2 separate regions of the Homo sapiens genome follow, and region 1 is linked to region 2. The links are contacts of gene promoters, found by promoter capture Hi-C in blood cells and fetal thymus (Javierre and others, 2016). All regions are on one chromosome and are shown on one strand. The core of a region is centred on a gene start or on the middle of the fragment in contact, and the rest is flanking DNA. Distances in the headings are between cores, read along the strand shown.

What was found. The method cuts DNA at HindIII sites, captures the fragments that hold promoters and counts their contacts. A CHiCAGO score of 5 or more calls a contact.
Region 1: a contact is called between a fragment that was not itself captured here and the fragment with the promoter of MED8-AS1 in region 2, in 1 of 17 cell types (naive B cells). The highest score is 5.3, in naive B cells.

Annotation. Positions count from the first base shown.
Region 1 is chr1:42,911,792-42,914,582 of GRCh38, reverse strand. No RefSeq gene overlaps it. Among named protein-coding and RNA genes, the nearest start is that of SLC2A1, 46 kb to the left of the region's middle. The HindIII fragment of the contact is 160 bases long and covers 1,446-1,605 here.
Region 2 is chr1:43,383,738-43,386,488 of GRCh38, reverse strand. MED8-AS1 (MED8 antisense RNA 1) reads right to left here and starts at 1,440. Exons shown (of 2, transcript XR_001738027.1): 1 at 1,348-1,440; 2 at 763-1,205. MED8 (mediator complex subunit 8) reads left to right here. Exons shown (of 7, transcript NM_201542.5): 6 at 263-511; 7 at 1,383-2,572. The coding sequence ends at 1,447. The HindIII fragment of the contact is 5,225 bases long and covers 1-1,993 here.

The DNA.
Region 1 (2,791 bases), core at 276-2,775, 470 kb after region 2:
AATTTCTGTCCTTCGTTTCTGAAGGACAGTTTTCCTGAATACTATTCTTGCTTGGCAGGTTTTCTTTCAGTGCTCTGAATATATCATCCCACTCCCTTCTGTCCTGTAAGGTTTCTGCTGAGAAATCTGCTGATAATTTTATAAGAGCTCCCTTGTGCTTGATGAGTCACTTTACTCTTGCTGCCTTCAGAGTCTCTCTTTGACTTTTGACAGTTTATTATGTGTCTCAGGGATGGCTTCTTTGGATCATATATTGTATCCCATAAGTCCCTTAGGCTTTCTTAACTTTTCTTCATCTTTTCTTTTGTTTCCCCTGACTCAGTAATTTCAAATAACCTGTCTCAAATTTCCTGATTGTTTCTTCTGCTCAATTAGATCTGTTATGATCCCTTCTAGTGAATTGTTCAATTCAGTTATTGTTTTTTTCAACTCCAGAATTTCCATTTGGTCTTTTTCTTAACAGATTCTTTTTTTTCTTTTTAGAGACAGGGTCTCACTCTATTGCCCAGGCTGGTCTCAAACACCTGGGCTCATGTAATCCTCCTGCCTCAGCCTCCCAGAGTGCTGGAATTTCAGGCCTGAGCCACTGCACCCGGCCTCTGCGTCTTTGTTGGTATTCTGGTTTTTATGGGTCACTTCCTGGTTTCATTTGTGTATCTGATTCTCTTGTAGCCCACTGAGCCTCTTTAAGATGATTATTTTGAATTCGTTGTCAGGTAATTCATAGATCTCTGTTTCTTTAGGGTTCCATTTCTGATACATAGTTGGTCCTCTGGACCATGTTTCCCACTATCATCATATGTCTTGTTATTTTTTGCAAGAGTTTGTGGATTTGAAAAAATGACCATGTCTTCCAGTTTTAATGGATTGGCTTCATAAAGGGGAAAACCTTAAACATTCAGCTCAACTAACAGTTTGGGGGAGTGGTCTCTCAAACCTTTTCTGGAGATACGTATTCTTGGGCTTGTGCCTGTGATTTCCCAATTCGAGAGGTTTGCTGGTGTCTTTTCAGAAGCTTGTGGTCTCTTGCTCTCTCTGGTGTCTGTCTACAGTACTGCAAGTTCTCAGGGTCTACAACAAGCTGTTGATGTCTCTTGTTCTCAGCAGTCCCCAGGGGATGTGTATGTATGTATGTATATATATATATGTGTGTGTGTGTGTGTGTGTGTGTATGTGTATATATGTGTATATATATGTGTATATATGTATATATATGTGTATATATGTATATATGTGTATATATGTGTATATATACACATATACATATACACATATATGTATATATATACGTGTGTGTATATATATATATATATATAATTTTTTTTTTAACTTTATCAGCACTCAGTGTCAGGCAAGACAGAAACCGGTCCCTCAGGGAGCCCCCTGAAAAGCCTGAATGTTGGACGCACATTCTACTCTTCTGTTTCACTCTCAAGGTAGAAGCTTCAAGTTGGGCATTTACTCCTGAAAGCACCAAGCTGTACTGGCTTTGGGAAAGGGCTATTGTAGGTTAAATGAAAATGTTTCTTCTTACCCATTTTAATATAGCTGTTCTTGACTTTGAACTTGCCTCAGGCACTAGTTTCTAGAATTCTCATAAAAGCTTTTTGGACCATATATTAAGTCAGTGTCTATGGAGGAACAAGGTCTGAGATGTCCTATTATGCTGTATTACTGATGTTACTCCTCTCAGGAAGATTAGTTTTTGAAAAGAGTACATGCAGAAAGTAAAGATCGGGATTTGGACATCGATTCCCTTAAAGCTAAATATGTTCACATATTCCTTGGAAATTTTTTTGGACATCCACAGGTATGAATACCCAGTTTGAAGATAACCTTTTTGGAGGATTCAAATTAGTATTCTTTTGGCTGCCTTTGGGATTTTGTTTCCTAAGTCTGCCTTGAATGTGCTCTCAAAATACCTACTTCCTATACTGGATCTCTTCCACCCCCAAGCTGGGCACCTGGGTCAGAGGATGTGTCTGGCAGGCTTTGAATGGTATAATGGTTAATTTTATGTGTCAACTTGACTGGGTTAAGGAAGACCCAAATGGCTAGTAAAACATTATTTCTGGGTATGTTTTTAGAGTATTCCCAGAGATTAGCATTTGGGTCAGCGTACTGAGTAAAAATGATTCACCCACCCTAGTGTTAGCAGGTCTTATCCAACTCATTGAGGGCCCATCTGAATGGAATAAAAAGGTAGAGGAGGGGGGAATTCTCTCTCTCTCTCTTTAGCTGGGACATCCATTTCCTTCCTTTGGACATTGGAGCTCCTGATTCTTAGGCCTTCAGACTTCAGGAGTCAGAGCAGCAGCCACCTGGGTCTCAGGCCCCCAGCCTTGGATTGGGAGTTATATCATTGGCTCCCCTGTTTCTCAGGCTTTCAAATTCACACTGAATTTCACTACCATATTTCCTGTTTCTCCAGTGTGCAGGCAGTATATCATGGGACGGACTTCTTGGCCTCTACAATCACTTGAACCAATTCTTATAATATATCTGCCCTTAATATCTGTATAAATATCTTATTGGTTCTGGTTTTTTCGAGAACCCTGACTAATGCAGATTTCGATACTGAGAGTGGTTCTAGAGCAACAGAATTTTAAGGATGAGTTTGCTGAATTGGTTTTGGGGCTTATGGAATTGGCTCTTCAATCATCTTAGATTTCAAGATGCTAAGGACTCTATAGTAGTCTATTGCATGAACTATTTATAAAGATATGCATTAGATGCTCCTAGTTTACCAAATATAAGAAGTAAAAACCTAAGTAACTCTGTATATGATACT
Region 2 (2,751 bases), core at 191-2,690:
AACTGCTTTGGGGTTTGTATCCATTCTGTTAGCCTTTTGTATTTAAGGCCAGCACTGAAGCAGTGGAGGAAATGGGCAAAGTAAGAAGAGAGAATTCTGAGATAGGCTTGGGGGTCCTCTGGCTCTTTTTCTGGGCTGTGAGGGAGTCTAGATGTTGCTGAATTCAGAACTCCAAACCCTGGCACTCATACTGGTCTTCCAGCTGCCACGTTCAGTCCTGCATCAGAAGCATACTTCAGGATCCCCATTACTTTTTCTTCAGGTCTCCGGCCGAACAAGCAGACCTTTAACCCTACAGACACTAATGCCTTGGTGGCAGCTGTTGCCTTTGGGAAAGGACTATCTAATTGGAGACCTTCAGGCAGCAGTGGTCCTGGCCAGGCAGGCCAGCCAGGAGCTGGGACGATCCTTGCAGGAACCTCAGGATTACAGCAGGTGCAGATGGCAGGAGCTCCAAGCCAGCAGCAGCCAATGCTCAGTGGGGTACAAATGGCTCAGGCAGGTCAACCAGGTAAGGTGGCAGGGGTTGAAATGAAGCTGACTTTGAGCAGGAGTGGGAGGGAATAAGCTAGATTATCTGGGCCTCCAGCATCTCTAGACCTAGAGGTTTTCTCTATTTCTCCTTTTCACTGTGACCCAGGAAATAATTTTCAGAAGTAAAAAAATCTCATCTGAGACTCTGCAACAGGCACCAGAGAGTGAGGAAGAACTTTGAGTAACAGAAACTGCTCCAATTTCTCATCCGCATCTCACATCTCTGTGTCAACTATCCTTCTATCCCATTTATTCTGGTATTAGATATGTTGTCAGTGTCTCTTGTTAGGTAGAGAAATCAGCAGTCAGATCTTAAGACCATTTGGTAGGTGCATCAGGAATTGACACGCAGGCCAGTTTTCCAGTCCTACATGTATTCTTTTCTCTGTATCCTGCCTCTCTTGCTCTTGGCTTCCTGCCTTCTCTCCTACTCATTTTTAGAACAGTCTAGATGCAGGCAGCTAGAAGAGTTATTTCCTCCAAGCTGTCTAGGAAAAGGGACAATTAAAGAGAGATTCTGCACTTATTATGATATAAAAAAAGAAAAACAATGAGAGAACATAGTACTCTTTTACCTGTGACGTTAAATGGGAGTCACACAGGTTTAGCTATCTGTTCTAGGAGTGGATGAACAGACTATTCTCCCATGTCACTTCTTTCCTCCTGGACACCTTCAGGGAGACAGCTGGGTGAAGAATCATACTTCTGACCTCTGTCAAACAGGGTCAGATGCCGCAGAGGTTCTGAGATGATAAAGGAAGTGACAGAGGGAACCTGAGGTACCACATTTCTGATTTGTCATGAAAGTCTTACCTTGCTTAAGATGACTTTTTTAATGTTCCTTTCAGGGAAAATGCCAAGTGGAATAAAAACCAACATCAAGTCGGCTTCCATGCATCCCTACCAGCGGTGAGTGTGGCTGGCAACCTCGACTCCCTGGTGCTCTTTGCAGAGTTGGGCAGTGAAATTACCTTTTGCTCAAGGCTCACCTAGATGGGTACAATAAAAAGAACATGGGCTTTCAGCAGCAGACAAATCCCACTTCCACCACTGACTAGCTGTGTGACCTTGGACAAGTGACCTAATTTTTCTGAGCCTGTTTCTCATTTGTAAATGGTGATAATACCTACCTCATAGGGTTGTTGTGAGGATTAAAATGAGGAAATGAATGTAAAGCACTTAGTACAGTATATGAAATAATGGGTATTCAATAAATGATAGTTTCTACAGATCCTTCTCCCCACCACCCTCCACAGTCCTTGATCCAGAACTTACCCTAATCTGATACTGCCTCACGTCAATGGTGAGCTGATGGACACAAGATCAAATAAGGCTATGCTTATTTTGTGCTGCCAGAAACTGTAGCAACCTCTGTGTTCTTAGAGGCACACTGTTTTTGCAGGCCCTCCTGCCTGGGTTTCATTCTGGCTATCCCTCTAAGGCGCAAGGTGAAGAAGCTTCTGGGCCAGGAAGGAAAAAAAAATGCCCACCTGCAGCTCTGGTGAAGCTTGGGCCTGCTCTCCTTTCCATCCTCTAAGGAGCCAACTTGGCTTTTACCTGTCAAATAGTCATAAAGTCCCCTATCCTTTACCCCACCTTATACACACGAGGCTTTCTCAGGAAGTGGCTCTGCCAGGCAGGACTATGTGGGAAAGGGTTTTTCCTTAGCACACGAAAAAGCCCCTTCCCCTGGATTCATGTTTCTTATTTTGGAGGGAGAAGGGAATTGCACTTCACACTGCCATCAGGGTTTAGTTGACCTCATAATGGTGCCCACTTTCTCGACTTTGGCCAGGATTTCCTTCAAAGAAAACGACTTTCCTTCATTTCCCTAAGCCTGTGGCCCAAATGGTGGACCAGAATGATGGTGGGAGGGGGCAACCCCCAGTAGCTTTGCCTGCTTTTATAAAGTTGAACAAATTGAATTTAGACATTCAGGCTAACCTGCCTTTCTTAGTACTCCTTTGTTGGCATGGGCAGGGGTTGAGTCAGCAGAAGTGGACCAAAGGATTCCTCTGAATAAAGTTATTTAAATTGATGTTCACTGGCTCAGGGTTGTCTGACAGTAATTTATGAGAGCACTACATAGGGATCAGAGGGGCAGTTTCAAGAGTGCTGCAAGGCAGTTCTAATTTGTTCTCCATAAAAAAGTTTCCGTATCTTTAATTAGCTTTGATCTAAAAATCCTGAAACTTCCCTCCTGCTCATACCTTCCAG